Regions from separate parts of the Homo sapiens genome. Here region 2 is linked to region 1. Evidence: promoter capture Hi-C in human tissues and cell types (Jung and others, 2019). All regions are on one chromosome and are shown on one strand. Each heading gives the region's core, a stretch centred on a gene start or on the middle of the fragment in contact. The rest is flanking DNA. Distances are from core to core; before and after follow the strand shown.

Region 1 (6,772 bases), core at 310-2,809:
TGGATGAGCACAGTGGCTCACACCTGCTGGGACAGGTGGGACAGGGTTTCACCCAGCATAATGTATTATGTATATATAATACACAATACAGTATATGCATTATCCCAGTATATGTATTATCCCAGTATGAATGTATTATGCATTGTGTATTATACAGTATAAATGTATTATTTATTATGAATATTGGATAGCAATGAGAATGCATGAATTATTGTTACATGCAAAAACATCAAGGATTCACTCAAGCAACACGGTGAATGAAAGAAGCTGAACATAACAGGGCACATACTTTATGTGTAAGCCCCTCAGAAACACCAATGCTAGCATCTGGTTTTGGAAGTCAGGACAGTGCTTTTTGTGGAGAAGGGTTAATGACTGGGAGAGGGCGTGAAGGCAGCTTCTAGTTCTTGATCTGGGAGCTGGTTCCATGAGCACAGTCCTTTTGTGAAAACATATGCAGACGAAGGCTTGTTACTTGTGCACAGTTGTGTAGGTTTGTTAAATTTCACTTAGTTCTGTAGGTTTGTTAAATTTAACTTAAAAATTAATTTAAAGAGCACAAAGTGCCACATACAATGTTGTTTCATCACTACAGATTTTACTCTAGGACATTTAGTTGTCTTAGTGTGAAGTTTGACCCAAGCCCAAGGCCTTTTTCAAGGCGTCCTTAAATTCCTTGTTCCTCAGGCAGTAAATCAAAGGGTTAATTATTGGCGTGACAACAGTGTACACGGCAGAGATGAGCTTGTTGGAGCTCTGGGAATCAATGGCTTGGGGCCGGACATACATGAAAAGCAAGGCTGTATAGAAGACGGTGACCACGGTGAGGTGAGAGGCGCAGGTAGAGAAGGCTCTCCAGCAGCCGGTGGCCGAGGGGATGCGCAGGACAGCCAGGGTGATGTGCCAATATGACAGTATGGTGGCCAGGAGCGGAAACACCAGGATGATGAAGGCCAGGATGAAATCCACCAGCTCTGCAGTGGAGAAGTCCGTGCAGGCCAGCTTGAGGATGGGGGAAATGTCACAGAAGAAGTGGTTCAAGACGTTGGAGCCACAGAACGTGACGCTGGAGATAAAACAGACCTTGATCATGGAGATGGTGAAGCCACTCACAAAGGAGAAGCCCACCAGCTGGAGGCACAGCCCCGGGGTCACAAGGACGTGGTAGCGCAGCGGGTGGCAGATGGCCACGTAGCGGTCGTAGGCCATGGAGGCCAGAAGCACACACTCGGTGCACACCAGGGAGCTGAAGAAGTAGAGCTGCGTCATGCACCCGACGAAAGAGATGCGTTTCTGCTGGAGGAGGAAGCCCTCCAGCATCTTGGGGGTGATGTCAGACACGTACCAGATCTCCAGGAAAGACATGGAGCTCAGAAAGTAGTACATGGGCCTGTGGAGGGAGGTGCTGCTCCAGACGATGAGGATGATGGCCAGGTTCTCCACCAGGACAAAGAGGTAGGTGAGCAGGAAGAGGAGGAAGAGCAGGTACTGCAGCCCTGGGGCCGTGGGGAGGCCCACCAGGATGAAGGTGCTGACCTTGGTGACATTCTCCCCACTCATGCCTCTGTGCTTGGGAGCTGCAGGCCTACAAAACATCAAAGAGCAAGAGGAAAGGGCTGCAGGGCAGCTGAGGCAGAGAGAGAGTGGAGCTGGACTTGGATGGGGAGTTTTGGTGCAAAGAGAGGCCACGTGGCTCCCCAGAGCACCAGGAGAGAGCAGTGATCTGCTGATCTTCTGAGTTTTAAAGTAGAAAACTTCTGTGTGCTTGCATTTACATATAACCATGAAGTAGGAATGAGGAAGAGAGTATATGCTGAGGAACAGAGCCGGGCAGCTCCAGGGTGGGCAAAACCCAAAGCTCTGAGTCCAGGGGCACTACCAGTCCACACGTGCCTGGGGCAGCTCTCAAGATCCAAGTGGGCATGGACACAGAGCTGGCCCTCCTTAGGGTCCTTCATCTGAGGGTTCCTGCAAGTCGGGGCAGCAGCCTCGGCATGAGGTGAGGGGCTATCAGCCTACCAGGGCAGAACCCCAAACTGGGCTAACCAGCCGGAGGAATGCAGGGAGGGCTCCCAGGAAAGGGCTGCCTGGCTCTGGGGGACCTGGTCCACAGGTGGGGGAGAGAGAGGGTAGCCACAGCCCCTTGCCCCACAGGGCATCTGGTGGTTCTTTTCATTGGCAGTCTAGGTGGGTTGAATGGCAGACTTCCACCAGCTCACAGCTGGGGAGGGTGACCCCAGGTTTCTGGCCCAGGATGCTAAAAATTGATGAGAAGACTAGGAGAGGGCCAGGTGGGTGCCGAATAATCTGGAGTCTGTGCTGGGGAGGCGTGGTGCGCGGCACTTACTGGAGAGCCTCATGGTGACGTGTAGGGGGTTGGCTAGACAAGTCGAGTTCATGGAAGAGTTGCAGGCTGAAAAACAAACTTCTAGAAGGGAATTGCCCAGGGACAGGTTTACACTTGGAAACGCACCTGTACTCCTGCCGTCTAGGGTGAGCATTCTGTGGGAACCCAAGATCATCCACTGGGGCGGCATGGCCATTCCCTGCCTTAAAATGCCAGCGTGCAGTTCAGAGTTTAGGATCAATTTCACAAGCATTTACTACTCACTCCAGTCACCGCCTACTGTCTCCCCAAAACAAAAGCAATAAGAACCCCTGCCATTAAAGGGGTCTCAAGATGTGAGTCTGAATGTAGCCTCTCTAGACACCATCCAGGGTGGTGACTGTGTCCTCTTCCCAGCTGAGTGGCCACAGGGGGCTTTAAAGTCCACAAGGAGGAAAGTTGGGGTCCACAGGAGCTCCTTGGAAGGCCAGCAGCCCCCACCTGTTGACTGGGTTTGCTGGGGAGAGCTGGCGGTGGGGGTAGTGAGCTTTGGTTCTTGTGCTTTTAACCCAGAACAGTAGAGGCACCTATAGATTTCTCTTGATTATTTGGATAGTGGTAACTGATCATTAGTGAGTTGGCTAGTTAATACCGGATTGATTCATTAAATTGAAACTGTGTTACTTTACAAATTCAGGGCCCTTTACAGCACACTCTATCCATCCCCTGAACTTGTTAGACAATGGCTGCATTTTCTTTTAAATAAACTTTTTATTTTGGAATAATTTTAGATTTACAGAAAAGTTACAAAGAGAGTGCAGAGAGCTCTGGGAGATCCTCCATTCAGCTTCCTCCAAGGCTAACTTCCTACATGAAGAGGGTATATTTGTCACAGTAAGGGATTGATATTGGTATTACTGTGGACTAAACTCCAGACTTTGGCTTTCATCTTTTTTTCCCTCGAATGCCCGTTTCTGTTCCAGGGTACCCCATCGCTGCGGGCATGGCTGCCTTTTTAACTTGGCTGTACCTCCCTGGTTTCTGTGGACAGACTGAAAGTCCAAGCGGACGCTGCCGAGGGAGGCTGGCATCCTCTCATCGTAAACAAGGTTCTCCAATATGTTACAAAGACTGTTTTTGCCCAGTCACAAATTCAAACCTAGGTCTCCAATCTGAGAGAGGAAAGTGAAGCTTTCCGTACCACAGAACGGATGTATTTTGGGGTGGTCCGTGAGACGGGTACTGCAGTAGCTCCTCCCGGCTGCACCTACCATCAGCCTGCAGCCATTTACTCTGATGCCTTCCCTGGTGCCTGGCAGAGCCACCCAGAACCAGTCCTCGTCAATGATGAGTGAGCAAATGCTGTCTGCCCCATTCAGCCACCTGAGGCTGCTGGCTGATTCTGGGTATGATGTTAGACATCAGGGCATAACCCAATGCCTGTGAATATGTACCCAGCACAGTACTCAAAAATGCAAGGGCCATTTATGGAGCATCCATGAGCCATCCTGCTTGGTGCTGGCCGTGAGACTGCAGAGGGGAGTCCCTGCTCCAGACTGTATGTGGGGGGCATGTGGAGTGGGGATTGTCAATCACACACATAAAAGAAGAGCTCTCTCCCCATGCAAGGAATACAACGTACCCTAAAATCACAGCGAAAGGAGCCCATCGGCAACATGGAAAGTGCTGGATCCTACCTGGGGCGTCTGGAAGCCTCACTGCAAACGGCTGCAGCTGCCTGCAGGAGTGAAGAGTGGCTTCTGCCTGTGTCCAGCAACTCCCAGTCTGGCCACAGTGACCAGACGAGCCTTGAACATGCTCTTGAGAAGTGGGCTGCCTGAGGCACTGGGGAGAAACCACTGTGGCTTTTTCTGATGAGCATAGGGACTCCAGGGTCCAATTATCCCCCTGATGATGGAAAGGCCCACACTGCCAATTAGGTGAGCCTGTGCCTCTGGGGCCAGGCTGGCCCCTGCCTGGCTGAGGGCACCCAAGCAGAGGCTGTTGAGCCCGCTCCTGGCTCCCTGTTTGGGCCCTTCGCCCTCCTCAGTGGCTATCTATCTCCCACACTCCCTACTGGAGGAGCTGCTGTCCATGGGCCACCCTTGTTCCTGCACAGCCCGCACCCTCTGAGGGAAGAATTTGTCCCACCTGACCTCTGTTTCCTCTCTGGTCCAATTTTTCCGACCTCCCCTGTTCTCGCCACTCTAATTCCATGGCCCCAGGTGCTCCTCAGATAGGCTGGCTCCTGCCACCCCGCTTGGGGCTTTGGGACTCACTGTGCCCTCTGGAATGTTCTCCTTCCGCATCAGCCCGCCCCCTCCCTCACTTCCTACAATCCCACACCCAGCCAGGACATTCCTTTTTCCTCCCCTGCCAGATGAGGAAAGGGAGAAACCCTCTCTGGCCTCTCCCAGCTGCCAGGGGAGAAACCCTGTCTGGCCTCTCCCAGCTTCTGGGGGCTCCTGGCTTCAGGGTCTGTGGCACCAACACTTTGATCTCTGCATCTCAGGTCACGTCACCTCCCATGATCTGTGTGTCAGATCTCTTCTGTGTGTCTCCTTATATGAGTGTTTATTATTTTCAAATTTATGCATAATAGATGAATATGTTTTTGGAGTACATATGATAATTGAATGCAATTATAATTTGTAAATATCAAATCAGTGTAAATGGGCTATTCATCACCTGAAATATTTGTCTTTTCTTTATACCAGAAACATTCAAATTATTTCTCTTATGACTATTTTGAAATATGCAATAGATTACTGAAAACTATAGTCACCTTACTGATCTCTAATGCTCAGTCTTATTTCTTCTATCAAACTATACATCTGTATCCATTAATCAACCTCGCTTCATCCCGCAGTCCCCTATACCCTTCCCAGCCTCTCATAACCACCAATCTACTATTTCCATGAGATCCACTTTTTAAGCTCCCACATATGAGTGAGAACATGCGATATTTGTCTTTGTGCCTGGCTTATTTCACTTAACATAATGACCTCCAGTTCCATCCATGTTGCTGCAAATAACAAGATTTCATTCTTTTTATGGCTGAATAATATTCCACTGCATATAGTACCACTTTTTTTAATCCATTCATCCATTGAGGTGGACACTTAGATTGATTCCATATTTTGGCTATTGTGAATAGGGCTGCAATAAACATGGGAGTGCAGATATTTCTTCAATGTATTGATTTGCTTTCTTTTGGAGATATACACAGTAGTGGAAAGGTTGGATTTTATGGTAGTTCTATGTTTATTTTTTTGAGAAACCGCCATTGTGTTGCCTATAGTGGCTGTACTGATGCCCACTTTCACCACTTTTGTTCAATCGTAGTACTGGAAGTCCTAGTCAGAGCAATCAGGCAAGAGAAAGAAATAAAAGGCATCCAAATTGGAAAGGAGGAAATTATATTAGTCTTGTTTGCAGACAACATGATCTGATAGTTTGAAAAACCTAAGAACTCCACCAAAAATAATGTATATTCATCAACAATGAATGAGGGTTCTGCTTTCTCTACATTCTCACCAAAAACTATTATTCCCTGTCTTTTTTAAAATAAAAGCCATTTTAAATGGGATGAGATGGCATCTCACTGTGGTTTTGATTCACATTTCTGTGATTATTAGTGATGTTGAGCATTTTTTTACAAACCTGTTTGCCATTTGTATGTATTCTTTTGAGAAATATATATTCAGATCTTTTGCCCATTTTTAAATGAGATCATTTGGGTTTTTTGCTTTTTTTTTGCCACTGAGTTGTTTGAGCTCCTTATATATTCTGGTTATTAATCCCTTGTCAGATAGATAGTTTGTAAACATTTTCTGTGGGTCGTCTCTTCACTCTGTTGATTGTTTCCTTTGTTGTGTAGAAACTTTTTAGTTTGATGTAATCTTATTTCTCTGTTTTTGCTTTGGTTGCCTGTTCTTTCCAGGTCTTACACAAGATCATTCTTTGCCCAGACCAATGTCCTGGAGTGTTTCCGCAATGTTTTCTTCTAGTGGTTTTATAGTTTTGAGTCTTAGATTTAAGTCTTTAATCCATTTGGATTGAATTTTTGTATGTGGTGAGAGATGGGGGTCTAGTTTCATTCTTCTGCATATGGATATCCAGTTTTCCCAGCACGATTTATTGACGAGACTATCCTTTCCTCATCATATGTCTTTGGCACCTTTGTTGAAAAGGAGTTCACTGTAAATGTGTGGATTTATATCTGGGTTCTCTATCCTGTTCCATTGGTCTATGTGTCTGTTTCTATGCTAGTAACATGCTGGTTTGGTTACGGTAGCTTTATAGTATATCTTGAAGTCACGTCGTGTGAGGCCTCCACCTTTGTTCTTTTTGTTCAGGATTGCTTTGGTTATTAGGGGTCTTTTGTGATTCCATATAAATTTTAGGATTTTTTTTCTATTTCTTTGAAGAATATCACTGGTATTT
Region 2 (6,630 bases), core at 3,872-6,371, 41 kb after region 1:
AAACGTGTCAGAAGATGGCAGCATCCATTCAAACCACACAGTGTTGCGGGAGGGCATTTTTCAGAAAGGTAAGGCATTCCATGCAGGCAAAAATATGGATAAGCACCACAAAATGTCTGAGCTGATTTGCTTTCCACTAACTTTCCTTTCTGCTAGCTTTCTGAAATAACCTTTTGCTAAACTTAAATGTTCCTTGGATCTCTGTTAGGTTCCTGCTCTCAGAAGAAGAGAGAATTCTATTGGAACAGCTTTCCTTCTAAGCAATGCAATAGCAATATTAACCACAAGGATTACTTTAGTTTGTCTATTTAGTCTTTGAGTTTTAGAGCTAATTATAGGATGAAAATTATTTTGACTGGTCAACCTGTGTTGGGCTGAGAATTTCACAGTCAAGCATTTTTGGAAAATTCTTCCGCTTTGCTTGGCCTACATCCCCCATTCTTCCTGGGAAAGGGAAAATGCTAATTTAATACTTTTCAGCCTTTGCCATGGATATTTGAGGAGAAAGATGCTTGTTCCTATCTATTAGAGCTCAGGAAACCACTAAGGAAATGAGACAGATCTCTTTGAATTCAGCACAGAGTAGTTGAGTCAACAGCACTCAACTTCATTGTTTCAAAACAATTTGCCTCTTTTAAGCAAAGTTACGTATTTTAAAATTTAAAAATAAAGTTAACTCTTTTGTGTAGAGTATTTACTCAATTTACACTTAATACAATAAATGACATGTCCTAAGATTCCCATTTTAATGTCTTTCTATTTCCTTTGTTCATTGTTTCTGTTTCTCTTTTACTCTCCTCTTTTGGATAAATTATGCACCTCTAAAATGTTCTGCTTTATATTCCATGTTGATATTTTAGCTACATTTCTTTTGTTAGTGTGGTAGACAGAATAATATTCCCCTAATGATGTCCACATTTTAATCTCCAGAATCTGCTAATGTTACCCTACATGGCAAAAAGACTTTGCAGATGTGATTAAGACAAGGATCCTTAGATAGGAAAACTACCCTGGGTTATCTTCGTGGGTTCAATGTGATCGCAGAGTCCTTAAAATATGGAAGAGGAAGGCAAGAGTCACAGAAGGAGATATAATGGTGGAAACCCAAGCCAGTGTGATGCAGCCAAGAGCCAAGATATGTGGGCAGCTTCTGGACACAGGAAAATTCAGACTCTTCTGAATTGACTCCAGAAGAAATGCAGCTCTTTTCACACCTTGATTTTAGTTCCATAAGACCCACTTTAGACTATGACCTCTAGAATTGTAAGATAATAGAGTTTGTTACAGCAACAATAGGAAGTTAATACAGTTAGTTTCAGGGGTTATTCTAGAAGTTGAAATATGTACCTTTAACATATTACAGTCTATCTTCAATTAATACTATGCTATAAGATGAACTATATGGAAATGTTACATTTGTATAATTTCATGTACTCCCCTCCTGAACTTTTTGTTTGTTTGTTTTTTGCTTTCTAAAAAAAATTATTTTGCCTTTGCTCATATGTTCATTCTTACCCTTTCAAGTCCTGTTTATTCCTTCATTGAAGATTCAGGGCTCCAATTAATATCATCTTCTTTACGCTGGGAGATTTTCCTTTAGAATTTCTCTTAGTGCAGGCCTGAAGGTTCCAAATGATCTCAGCTTCTCTGTGCCTGATAATGTCTTCATTTAGCATTCATTTTGAAGAATATTTTTGCTGGGCATAGAATTCTATGCTGACAGTGTTTTCCTTTCAATACCTTAAAAATGTTGTTCCATTGTTAGCCTCCATTGTGTACAAGGAAAAGTCAGATGCCATTTTTCATGTTATACCAGTGTTATGTTAGGTTATTCCAGTGTTATATTAGGTTATTCCAGTGTTATGTAATTTTTCTTTTGGCAGTTTGAATATGTTATTCCACTACCTTCTGGCTTCATCATTTCTGATGATGTTAAGCATTAATCTGATTGAGTATTAGATATATGAGGAGCCATTTTTTGCCTTGCTGCTTTCTCTTATTGTCTTGGGCTTTTGAAAGTTTGACTATGATATGTTTAGGAGTGGATCCCTTTGGATTTATTGTAATTGAAATTCATTAAGCTTCTTCTATTTATAGATTAATGTTTTTCATCAAGTTTGGGATGTTTTCCACCATTATTTATTCAAATCCTTTTTATGCTTAATTTGCTCCTCTCCTTCTGGGACTCCTAGTAAGTATGGGTTGGTACACTTGATGGTATCCTGTAAGTCTCTGATGCTTTGATTATTTTTAAGCATTCTACAGTCTTTCTGTTTCTTACTCTGAATAATCTCTATTGACCTATCTACAAGTCTGCTGATTCTTTTTTCTATAGTTGAGCACCTCTAGTAAATTCTTTTATTTCAGTTATAGTACTTTTTGTCCCAAAAATTTCTATTTGGGGATATACGTATATATATATATATCTTTATATATATATATATGTATATTATATATAATAATATGATGGGTAATTTCTATCTCTGTATTGGTATTTTCCATTTGATAAGACATCATTGTACATACTTTCCTTGAATTATTTAAACATGATTTTCCTCAGTTCTTTGAACATGTTTGCAGTGGCTGATTTCATGTGTTTGTCTAATAAGTTTTAGACAAACCACCATCTAAGTACCATTAAGAACAGTTTTAAGTGACAGCTTTATTTTTCTGTGTGAGACATACTATCCTGTTTCTTTGTGTCTCATCATTTTTCATTGATAAATTGACATTTTAAATAATATAATGTGACAACTCTGGTATAAGCCCACCCTTGGTTTGTTGTAGGTGGTTTTGTTGCTGTTTGTTTGTTTGATGACCTTCCTCAGATTATTCTGTAGAGTCTGTTTTCTCTACAGTTTATGGCCACTGAAGCCTCTGGGTATTTTTTAAATTTTGGTTTTTATTTTTAAGCTTGGCTTTCTAAGAGTCACCCTTGACTCACCTTGACTTAATTGTCAGTCAATGTTCATTTAGATTTTCTTAAATGCCATCAGCCAGTAAGTCTTCCACCCTTTCCTAAGGGTATCTGTGTGTGTTAGAGTCACTCCTTCAAATCTGTCTTAACCTTTACTTTCTGCTTGTACAGGGCCTCAAGGTCAGCCAGAGGTGACTGACTGGGCTCCTCTAGTCTTTCCTGGGCAGGCATGCAGACATATGCTTGTATGCAGACTTCTGGATCCCCAGGAATACATAGGAGCTTTTCAAAGCCTCTGGATATCTTACACCCCATGTCTTTCTTTTACATTTTTAGTTGAGTTCTTATTTGCCCTAGAAATAATGATATTGCAGCATTAGGCAATTGCAAAGGTAAACAATTGCTGCTGACTCTTCAACAATGCCCTAGGGGTATAACTGAGCTCTCTGGGTCAGATCCAATAGCCATGACATAAATACGGATTTCTTGGGGAACTGCAGGTCACAGTGACAATGCTCTAGGGTTGTCTTCTTGAGAAGTTTCAAAACCAGCCTTTCCCTTTTGGTGGCTGCAAGGCAGCTGGTTTTCCAGGCTACCACACCATGTTGGTGGGAAAGATGAGATGAGAGATATCAAGTTAAAATGCCATAGCCCTTGCTATTCTAACCAAGTTTCAGTCATTTTTCTTTTGTAAACACTTTTCAGAGCGTCATGAACTTTGGCTAATTTCTGGAATTTTGAAAAAGTTGACTTTGATAATTTTGCCAGTATTCTTGTTACTTTAATGGAGGAATTTTTTTTTTTTTTTTTTTTTTTTTTGAGACAAGTCTGTCTCTGTCCCACAGGCTGGAGTGCAGTGGCGCAATCTTGGCTCACTGAAACCTCTACCTCCTGGATTCAAGCAATTCTCCTGCCTCAGCCTCCCGAGTAGCTGGGATTGCAGGCATTTGTCACCATGCCCAGCTAATTTTTTTTGTATATTTTGTAGAGATGGGGGTTTCACCAAGTTGGCCAGGCCAGACTCCTGACCTCAAGTGATCTGCCCCCCTCGGCCTCCCAAAGTGCTGGGATTACAGGCATGAACCACTGCACCTGGCCTGGAGGATCAGATTTATAGAAACCCTCATGCCACCATTTTGGAAGTCCGGCCTCTGAATTCATTATTCACTGCTGTGTTTCTTGAACATTTATTTTTCTTAAATTGATGTTTTATCCCAAGTCAAGCATCATTTGGTCAAATTTCTAGTAATTTTAAAAAATGGATTCACGAAAGGTAAACTTTCCAACAGCTTCTATATTCCAAGATAAACACGGAATATGATTTAAAACTTCAAAAAAAGAATTATCAGTGGCCAAAAAATGTAAGAAAATATGATTGACATCACTTAAAATTAAGTGAATACGGTTTGACAAATAACATTGAAGTATTATTTTTTCTTCGGGCCTGTCAGAGTAGCTGAAATTCAAAAATACTAATTAAATTTAATCATCACAGGTTGTGGGGAAATAGGCCAACTCAGCACTTTGAAGTGTTAATTAGCATTTCATGTTTGGAGGATAATTTATCAGCCCTTGTAAAAGGAACCTACCTTCTGACACTCTTCATCTATTATTATGAATCTCGCCTCCAAAAATCATTGTTCTGGTGCAGACAGACTTTTGTTGCAGTCCCTTAGGAAACAATGGAAATATAAGAAACAAATTATAAATATATAAGAAACAACTTATAAATCTTTCAGTAGGGGCCGGGCATGGAGGCTCAGGCCTAGAATCCCAGCACTTTGGGGGGCCAAGGCAGGCAGATCACCTGAGGTCAGGAGTTCGAGACCAGCCTGGCCAACATGGTGAAACCCCATCTCTACTAAAAATACAAAAATTAGCCGGGCATAGTGATGTGCACCTGTAATCCCAGCTACTCGGGAGGCCGAGGCAGGAGAATCACTTGAACCCGGGAGGCAGAGGTTGCAGTGAACTGAGATCGGGCCACTGCACTCCAGCCTGGGTGACAGAGTGAGACCCTGCCAAAAAAAAAAAAAAAAATCTTTCAATAGGACATTGGTTAAATAAAGCATGTAAACTGTAGTCCACCCATATAGAGAAAAACTGTGACTCTGTCAGAAAAAGAGAGGGAGAAAATAACAGACAGACACAGAGATAGGCACCCAGAAATATATAATCTGGAGGAATATGCAACAAAGCGTTTAGAACATATAAATAAAACATGGAAAATGGGTTTGGGTATTTATGGGGAATTGTCATAATAGCTGTAGCTGTCTGTTAGTTCATATTTTTTAAAACAATAAGTTTATCGATTCAGCTATCTTATTTCTTGGAAACACAGTCACATGGAAAGAAGTCTATAAATTTATAAGAATAAGAAATGAGACACTGAAGCCCCCTCTTACTTTCCAATCTCCCTTTTCCTTCCCCATTATCCTTGGCAGAAGTAAGTGATGTAAATAGACTTACATCACCCAGTTATTTGCCTTTGCATTTATATACATTGATTTTCACATGGATATGTATTGAATATTTTTAACATGAATGAAGTTATCCTACATATGCTAAAACTTGTGTTATTGTTTTCGCTTTTCTTTTCTTTTCTTTGAGTTAGGTTCTCACTCTGTTGTCCAGGCCGAAGGGCAGTGGCATGATCACAGCTCACTGCAGCCTCAACCTCCTGGGCTCAAGCGATCCTCCCACCTCATTCTCCCAAGTAGCTGGGTCTACAGGTGTGCACCACCATGCCCGGCTAATTTTCGTATGTTTTGTAGAGGTGGGGTTTTGCCGTGTTGCTCAGGCTGGTCTCGAACTCCTAAGCTCAAGCAATCTGCCCACCTCGGCTTCCCAAAGTGCTGAGATTACAGGCATGAGCCACTGTGCTGGGCCTTGTTTCCACTTTTAAATGTCTTAATGATGCAGGTTATGACTGGAAATAAGTTAGATATTATAAGAGAAAGAAAAAGATGTTTTTAAGAATTTCAGATGTTTGGCTTGAGTGATGAATGGAAGATCCAGAAATGAAATAAAGAAGAGATTGGGAAGGAAAGATTAAGAGAGGATTTTTTTGGATAGGTCCATTATGAGAGATCTCTGAGATAACCAAGTGAAGATGACATTCTTATCAAAAACCAGGTGCCAGCGATCCTTTTAATGTTTGACAAACTTATGAACAAAACATAACTATTTCGGGTTTTATTTTCCCCAATCATTGAAATTTAATGTCTCTTCATTGAGGTTGAGCATATTTAACCTCATAGTTTACTTTGTTCATGGAAAATTGATGTTTATCATTGAGACTTACAATCTTTTCATGTTGATCGTTCATTTGTATTTCCTCTCCTATATTTGTGCGTTTCTAACCTTTGTCCATCTCCAGTTAGTTTTGTTTTGTTTTGTTTTTTTGAGATGGAGTCCAGTCTGTCCATCTCAATGGACAGACGGGGTTTCACGGTGTTGGCCAGGATGGTCTCGATCTCCTGACCTCATAATCCACCTGCCTCGGCCTCCCAAAGTGCTGGAATTACAGGTGTGAGCCACCACGCCTGGCCTTCCAGTTAGTTTTTTAAAAATCTTTTTCTTATTGATGTGTAAGAATTCTCAATATATCCCAATAATTATTTTTCACTCGCCTAGCATGTTTTGGATATTGTTTCCAGGTTTTTCTATTTATCTACCAACTTCATCTGTAGTGTCCTTCATTATAGAGAAGC

The links. The method cuts DNA at HindIII sites, captures the fragments that hold promoters and counts their contacts. A contact is called where the count stands out against the background at its distance.
Region 2: a contact is called between a fragment that was not itself captured here and the fragment with the promoter of OR6B2 in region 1, in 2 of the 25 tissues and cell types used here (dorsolateral prefrontal cortex and liver).

Annotation. Positions count from the first base shown.
Region 1 is chr2:240,028,870-240,035,641 of GRCh38, forward strand. OR6B2 (olfactory receptor family 6 subfamily B member 2) reads right to left here and starts at 1,560. Exons shown (of 1, transcript NM_001005853.1): 1 at 622-1,560. The coding sequence starts at 1,560. The coding sequence ends at 622. The HindIII fragment of the contact is 5,539 bases long and covers 637-6,175 here.
Region 2 is chr2:240,066,669-240,073,298 of GRCh38, forward strand. No RefSeq gene overlaps it. Among named protein-coding and RNA genes, the nearest start is that of OR6B3, 16 kb to the left of the region's middle. The HindIII fragment of the contact is 5,248 bases long and covers 2,498-6,630 here.